Regions from separate parts of the Homo sapiens genome. Here region 2 is linked to region 1. Evidence: promoter capture Hi-C in human tissues and cell types (Jung and others, 2019). All regions are on one chromosome and are shown on one strand. The core of a region is centred on a gene start or on the middle of the fragment in contact, and the rest is flanking DNA. Distances in the headings are between cores, read along the strand shown. Region 1 holds the start of H6PD (hexose-6-phosphate dehydrogenase/glucose 1-dehydrogenase). Region 2 has its middle 36 kb from the start of LINC02606.

Evidence for each region. Contacts are between HindIII fragments. The study calls those that stand out against the background at their distance.
Region 2: a fragment that was not itself captured here is called in contact with the fragment with the promoter of H6PD in region 1 in 1 of the 25 tissues and cell types used here (liver).

The regions. Positions count from the first base shown.
Region 1 is chr1:9,233,094-9,237,258 of GRCh38, reverse strand. It overlaps H6PD (hexose-6-phosphate dehydrogenase/glucose 1-dehydrogenase), which reads right to left and starts at 2,485. Exons shown (of 5, transcript NM_004285.4): 1 at 2,193-2,485. RefSeq lists a silencer at 2,073-2,632. The HindIII fragment of the contact is 6,904 bases long and covers 1-4,107 here.
Region 2 is chr1:9,462,547-9,466,711 of GRCh38, reverse strand. No RefSeq gene overlaps it. Among named protein-coding and RNA genes, the nearest start is that of LINC02606, 36 kb to the right of the region's middle. The HindIII fragment of the contact is 9,148 bases long and covers 1-4,165 here.

The DNA of each region.
Region 1 (4,165 bases), core at 1,236-3,735:
AAAAAAAAAAAAAAAAAAAAAAGAGAAGTCAAATAACTTACCAAAGGTCAAGCAGCTAGAGGTGATAGGATTTGAATACAGGCAGTCTGGTCCCAGAGCTAACCTTCCCGTAAAATGTGACTACATCCCTGAATGGCAAAATGTAAAACACTGTATTACATTTACACTGTATCAGTGTAGATACTGAACAGTGGTTTAAACCAGACAGGCTGTTTCTCTGCTCCATGAAGTCAAGCTGTTCCGAACACTAACTGCGGTAACCAGCCTCTGCCTCCCGGGTCCGCTTTGCCTTTCACAGTTCTTCCTTCTGACATCATGAAGACATCATGTATAAGCCTCAGTTGCTTTGTTGAAACGTGGAAGACCTTCAAGGGCTAGTTTTTGGAGAACTGGTTACATAAGAATATTCTGGATTCAAATCCCTGCCACTCAGTAACTATGTACCCTCAGACAAGTTATTTAACCTCTCTGTACCTCAACCACAGAATGGGAAAACAAATCGATGGGAAGCATGTAAGGTACTTAGCACAATGCCTGGCATACAGTAAGCACCCAAGAAATCCTAGCTGCTTTTTTTTTTTTTTTTTTTTAAGGAGAAGTCTAGCTTTGTCACCCAGGCTGGAGTGCAGTGGCACGATCTTGGTTCACTGCAACCTCCGTCACCGGAGGCAGGGCGGTTCAAGCGATTTTCCTGCCTTAGCCTCCCCAGCAGCTGGGATTACAGGCATCCGCTGCCCCCATGCCCAGCAAATTTTTGTATTTTTAGTAGAGACGGGGTTTCACCATGTTGGCAAGGCTGGTCTTGAACTCTTCAAGTGACCTGCCCGCCCTGGCCTCCGAAAGTGTTGGGATTACAGGCGTGAGCCACTGGGCCCGGCCAGAAATGTTAGTTTCTATCATTAAACCATTAGCTTCACGAATGAAGTCCTTCTTGCTAGCTTCTTGAACTGCTGTTAAAACCAACTAACCAGCTGGGCGCGGTGGTTCATGCCTGTAATCCCAGCACTTTGGGAGGCCGAGGTGGTGGATCACCTGAGGTCAGCAGTTCAAGACAAGCCTGGATAACATAGTGAAACCCTGTTTCTACTAAAAAATACATAAAATTAGCCGGGTGTGGTGGCACGCGCCTGTAATCCCAGCCACTCAGGAGGCTGAGGTGGAAGAATCGCTTGAACCAGGAGGAGAAGGTTGCAGTGGGCCGAGATCGCGCCATTGCACTCCAGCTTGGGCAACAACTAACCATCAACCACAGAAAAATGCCAAGGAAAAACTCAGACAGCTTTTCATGATCTTCCAATCATAATGATGAAAAATTAAAGGGATATGATGCATAATTTAAAATACGCTGTCTGGGCGTGGTGCTTCACACCTGTAATCCCAACACTTCGTAAGGCTTAAGCAGGAGGATCGCTTGAGCCCAGGAGTTCGAGACCAGCCAGGGCAACATAGTGAGACCACTGTCTCTACAAAAGGTTTAAAAATTAGCCAGGCGTGGTGGTGTGCGCCTGTGGTCCCAGCTACCCCGGAGGCTGAGGCAGGACGATGGCCTGAGCCCAAGAGGTGGAGGCTGCAGGGAACCGTGTTTGTGCCACTGTACTCCAGCCTGGGCAACCAAGCAAGACCCCATCTTTTATAAGTAAAAGATTTTTTACTTTTATATAAAAAAGTAAAAAGATAAAATAAAAAATATGCCCATTTGACACCAGTTTTCCCTCATCTGCTGCCTTTCATGAGCCATGGGCCTGTTGTGGGTGCAGGGGGAGTGGGCAAGGACACTTCTTTCCAGAAGTTCTCACTTCTGGCTAAGCATTCAAGGTTGGGTGAGCTGATTTTCAGAGATCCAGAGAGGTTTGCCCCTGGAAAACCGTTCACTAGATCCGGGTACGGGAAACGCTATGTGAAACCCGAGGGCCAATCAATGCCAAAGATTAAGCAGGTCCCGGGGGAAATCTCGGAGTTCCCCCTCTCCTGGAACTCAGTTCCGGGAAGCCCAGGGAAAGGACAGCTCGGCCGCTCGGGGCGACCCTGGAGGGAGCCTGGCCGCCTCCTGAGCAGTTCCAAAGCCGCCAGCCCCAGGCTCCGTGGGGCTGGCAGCGCAGGCTCCGGGGCTCGGCGCGGCCTCGGGCCCGGCGGCAGCGCGGGTTGGAGGCGCCGGGGCCGGGGCGGCGGCGGGGCCGGCGGGGGGCGCTTACTTCCTCTCGCGCGGCGGCGCAGGCCGCTCCTCCGGGACACGGCCGGGGCGGCGCTGAGGGCCGGGCCCGCTCCCGAGGGCTCCCCTGCGCCCTGGGCCGCACCTCCTCTTCCGCAGGGCCCGTCACTCCGACAAGTGCGCGTGTCACGCGGCCACGCGCCGCACGACACTCCGATACCGCCCGCGGAGCCCGCGGCGGCCGCAGGGGAAGGCGCGAGGCCAAGGCCAGCCCGGCCGCCACCCCGCCCCAGGCCTCAGGCCTCAGGCCTCCACCGCCTTGCGCTCAGCAAGACTGGGGCCCGGGCCGGGGGCGCGCGCGGCGGGGGCGCGCGCGGCGGGGGCGGGGGCGGGGCGGGGGCGCCGGCGAGGCCACGCCCTCCGCTGGCGGCCGCCGGGGCGGGGCCTCGGAGCTTCCGGGGCGAGGCGGTGGGTCAGCTCCGAGCCTCCGCCCCCGCCCTTCCCTTCGGCCCCCTGGTGGCCGTGCGTCCTAGAGCTGTCCTGCCGCGTCCGAGACGCGCGCGGGACCCAGAAGTGGCCGAGGGACGTGGTTGTGTCGTGGAGGGGACCCGGGGTGCTGGCTGCTCCCTACGATCTGGCACCCGCTCTGGGACTCCTCAGGCCTCGCTTTTCCCCATCTGTAGAATGAGCGGCTCGGTCTTTCCCGTCTTCAATATCCAGAGTAGGGATTTAGAAGTCGGAGCGCACACGCTGGCCACGCCTCCGCGCACAGCTTCAGATCTCTGCCACCCCTTATCACTTGTGTGACCCTGAGTTCAGTTTCTTCATCTGTACAGTGGGGACAATGGGAGTACCTGCCTCCGGGGTTGTCTGGCACTTGGGTGCTTAGTAAGCGGAAGCTTGGACCCGTGTGGCAAATAGAAGACTTTTGCTAAGACATTGCTAAGAAAGACAGCAAATGGAATCAGGGCTTCTCTGTAGGGTGAGAGGTATTTAAGTGAGAAAACGGGATCAGCTGCCTCTCAGAGCACTCAGTCCCCTTCCTGTCCCCCACCATTATCAGGCAGTAGGTGGCCCTCACCATGCTCCCCAACCTGCTCCCCACTTTTTCTTTTTTCTTTCTTTTCTTTTCTTTTTTTCTTTTTTTTTTTTTTTTTTTTTTTTGAGACAGGGTCTCGCTCTGTCACCCATGCTGGAGTGCAGTGGCGCTATCACAGCTCACTGCAGCCTCCGCCTCCCAGGCTCAAGTGATCCTCCCGCCTCAGCCTCCCAAGTAACTGGGATCACAGATGTTCGCCACCACTCCTGACTAATTTTTCAACTTTTTGTAGAGACGGGGTCTCACTTTGTTGCCCAGGCTGGTCTCGAACTCCTGGGCCCAAGTGATTCTCCCACGTTGGCCTCCCAAAGTGCTGGGAGGAGATTCTGACCTGAGAGAGAAACTGTGCTGCAGCTTTTTATTTCCCGATGGTTCCATTAGAGGTGGGAGCGTCTGGAACTAGCAGTGGCAACTTGGCAGTGGCCGGCAGGACTGAATGGGGCCAACAGGCATGATTACCACACAGGATGTTAGGCAAGGGGTTCCGGGAAGGCTGGGAACTGAGGGGAGCTGGGCCTCACCGTCACCAAGGCCAGAGGCCATCCGGGCGCCCGCAGAGGGCTGCCAAGCCTCGGCAAGGATTTAGGTCACACTGAGTGGGCCTGGCAGAGGGGGGAGCCAGGGAGCCAGGCACTCTCTGGGCTACCTCCACAGCTGGAAGTGAGCAGGAGGGCTTAGGGCAGGAGCGGGCCAGAGCAGACTCGAATGATGCCGGGACTCTTGGCCTAGAGCCCTTCCCATGTTCTGTGGCCCTGAGTGTGTCAGGCACCCACATAGCTCTGAAAACCAGGGCCCAGGAAGGCACAGATAGAAGTGGGCAGGTGTCCAGAGGCATGACCGGGGGTTCGTTTCCCAGATCTCCATGTGGCCATCAGAGGGTGATCTGCTACCTTGAGGGCTTCTTATAAATAGCCCCA
Region 2 (4,165 bases), core at 677-3,176, 230 kb before region 1:
TAGCCCAGCAAGCAGGCCAGAGAGGAGATGAAATCTTAGTTCAACAAAACTCTGCTTTTTAATTAAATTGCTTTTTTTTTTGTTTTAGACAGAGTCTTGCTCTGTTGTCCAGGCTGGAGTACAGCGATGTAATCTCGGCTCACTACAGACTGTGCCTCCTGCATTCAAGTGATTCTTGTGCCTCCTGAGTAGCTGGGATTACAGGGGTGCGCCACCACTCCTGGCTAACTTTTGAAGTTTTAGTAGGAAGGGGGTTTCGCCATGTGGTCAGGCTGGTCTTGAACTCCTGGCTTCAAGTGATCTGCTTACCTCGGCCTCCCAAAGTGCGGGGATTACAGGTGTGAGCCACCACACCCTGCCTAAATTACATTTTGTTTTATCTTATTTAATTTTTTTGTGGGGGAGAAGGATAGGAAGTGAGCGGTAGTGTGGCCAACCATCCCGGTTTGCCTGGGACTGGGAGGGTTCCAGGGCTACAGGACTTTCTGTACGGAAACCCAGAGACTAAGCAAACCAGACTGAGTTGGTCACTGTAGAGGGAGGGGACGTCCACAGAGTGGGAAGAAGCACAGGTTTCATGGTCAGCGTGCACAATTTGCCCCATGAAAATTAGGGAACCTCCCCAGGGTTTATCTCTAAAAGGCATATTTTGGGGAGTGGTGCAGGCAGGGGAGAGGGCAGATATTAGGGCATTGGGGCTCTGTGTGGGTGGCAGCACCAAGGGGACCTGCAGAAGAGGCTCCTCCACCCTGCACATCCCACCATCGGCCAGGAGGGGTGCGGGCCTGGGCTGCCAGATGGCTGATTTTTAAAAAAATGTTTGTGAAAGCTACCAAATTCTGAAACGTTGGCTCACACCTTCAGGACATCCTGTATAGGCCACACAAACACATCTGATTGCCAAGTTGGCCTCTGGGCAGCCGGTTTGCAACCTCTGCACCGTACCTTTTCTAAGTTTCCCGTCAGTTCTAGAGTTCAGCGACTATCCAAACTCCAGCCAGCCACACTCCCAGGCAATATGTGGTGTACTTTGAGGAAGAACGAACAAATACACGTGTTTTAAAAGCTGATGTCGGGCTGGCTGTGGTGGCTCACTCCTGTGATCCCAGCACTTTGGAAGGCATGAGCCACCATGCCCAGCCTAAATTGTACATTTTAAAGCGGTGAATTTTATGGTATATAAATTATATCTTGATTTAAAAATACACCGTGGCTCATGCCTGTAATCTCAGCATTTTGGGAGGCCGAGGCTGGTGGATTACCTGAGGTCAGGAGTTTGAGACCAGCCTGACCAACATGGCGAAACCCTGTCTCTACTAAAAATACAAAAAATTAGCCGGGCGTGGTGGCGCATGCCTGTAATCCCAGCCACTCAGGAGGCTGAGGCAAGAGAATCGCTTGAACCCGGGAGGTGGAGGTTGCAGTGAGCCAAGATTGTGCCATTGTACTCCAGCCTGGGTGACAGAGTGAGACTCCGTCTCAAAAAAAACAAAAAAAAAACCCCAAAAAATCATAAAAAACAAAAATATACCGTTCGGATGTTAATTCTCTCCAAAATTTCACTCCAAGTTGATCTACAGATATGTAACCCCAATTCCAGCAAGATTTTTTTTCTTTTTTTTTTTTTTTTAGAAATGAACAAAATTGAGTCAGGCGCAGTGGCTCACTCCTGTAGTCCCAGGACTTTGGGAGGCTGAGGCAGGCGGATCACCTGAGGTCAGGAGTTTGAGACCAGCCTGGTCAGTATGGTGAAATCCCATCTCTACTAAAAATACAAAAATTAGCCAGGCATGGTGGTGCACACCTGTAATCCCAGCTACTTGGGAGGCTGAAGCAGGAGAATAGCTTGAACCTTGGAGGCAGAGGTTGCAGTGAGCTGAGATCATGCCATTGCACTCCAGCCTAGGCAACAAAGCCAGACTCTGTCTCAAAAAAAAAAAAAAAAAAAAAGAGATGGACAAAATTGATTCCAAAATTCGAATGGAAATGCACAGGACATAGAATTGCCAAAACAACTTCGGTAAACAACAAAGTAGGAGGGCTTACACTATCTGATTTCAGGTCTTATTATATAGCTATGATAATCAAGGCAGTATGGTACTGATGTAAAGACAAATAGATAAATGGAACAGAATAGAGAACCCGGAAATAGACCCACATTAAAAAGTACAACAGATTTTCAACAAAGGTTCAAAGGCAATTCAGTGTGGCCGGGCGCAGTGGCTCACGCCTGTAATTCCAGCACTTTGGGAGGCTAAGGTGGGCAGGTGACTTGAGGTCAGGAATTCGAGACCAGCCTGGCCAACATGGAGAAACCCCGTCTCTACTAAAAATACAAAAATTAGCCAGGCGTGCCTGTAATCCCAGCTACTTGGGTGCCTGTAATCCCAGCTACTCGGGTGGCTGAGGCGGGAGAATCACTCAAACCCAGGAGGCAGAGGCTGTAGAGCCGAGATTGCACCACTGCACTCCAGCCTGGGCGACAGAGCAAAACTCTGTCTCAAAAACAAACAAACAAACAAAAAACAAAGGCAATTCAGTGGGAAAAGTATGGTCATTTCAACAAATGTGTTAGAACAACTGAATATCCATATGTGAAAAAATGAGTCTCGATTCACACCCTGTACCATATAAAAATATTAATTCAAAGTAGACCTAAATGGGCTGGGCGCGGTGGCTCACGCTTGTAATCCCAGCACTTTGGGAGGCTGAGGTGGGCGGATCACGAGGTCAGGAGATCGAGACCATCCTGGCTAACAGGGTGAAACCCCGTCTCTACTAAAAATACAAAAAATTAGCCAGGAGTTGTGGCGGGCGCCTGTAGTCCCAGCTACTCGGGAGGCTGAGACAGGAGAATGGTGTGAACCTGGGAGGCGGAGCTTGCAGTGAGCGGAGATCAAGCCACTGCTCTCCAGCCTGGGCGACAGAACGAGACTCCGTCTCAAAAAAAAAAAAACAAAGTAGACCTAAATGTAACTAAATGTAAGACTTAAAAGCACAAAACTTCTAGAAGAAAACATAGGAAAAAACTTTGTAACCTTGAGTTAGGCAAAGGTTCCTTAGATACAGTAGCAAAAGTATGATCCATTAAAGAACAAATAGAATTCTACTTAATGAAAAGTTAAAACTTTTTTTTTTTTTTTTTTTTGAGACAGAGTCTTGCTCTGTCACCCAGGCTAGAGTGCAGTGGTGCGATTTCAACTCACTGTAACCTCCGCTTCCCAAGTTCAAGCGATTCTCTTGCCTCAGCCTCCTCAGTAGCTGGGATTACAGGCACGTGCCACCACGTCTGGCTAATTTTTGTATTTTTAGTAGAGATGAGGTTTCACCATATTGGTCAGGCTGGTCTCGAACTCCTGACCTTGTGGTTTGCCTGCCTCAGCCTCCCAAAGTGCTGGGATTACAGGTGTGAGCCACAGCGCCCAGCTACTTTGTGTTTTTTTTAAGACAGTATGAAGAGAGTGACGAGAAAATATTTGTAAGTCATATATCTAATAAAGGATTTGTATTCAAAATGTATAAATAACTCTCAAAAGTTAGTAAGAAAACAGCTCATTTAAAAAATGGACAGATTGGGCATGGTGACTCACACCTGAAATCCCAGCACTTTGGGAGGCTGAGGGATTGCTTGAGCTCAGGAGTTCAAGACCAGCCTGGGCAACATAGTGAGACCCTGTATCTACAAAAAGTCAAAAAATTAGCTGGGCACGGTGGCGCATACCTACAGTCCCAGCTACTTGGGAGGATGATTTGAGCCAGGAGGTTGAGGCTGCAGTGAGCTGTGATGGTACCACTGCACTCCAGTTTGCGTGACAGAGCGAGACACTGTCTCAAAAAATAAAAATAAAAATGGACAAAATGTTTGAACAAACAACTGCTTATTTATTTAATAAGTCTATATTTTGCTTATTGGATGGCCAATTAGCATATAAGAAAGTACTAAAATCATTAGTTGTTAGGGAAATGCAAATTAAAGCCACAAAGTGATACTGCCATCTGCCTACTGGAATGGCTTAAATGGAAAAGACTGACCATACTAAGTACTGGTGAAGATGCGGAGAAACTGGAACTCTCATTCTTTGCTGGCGGGAATGTAAAATAGTACAACCACTTTCAAGAACAGCTCAGCAGTTTTTTAAAAAAGTTAAACATAGCTGGGCATGGT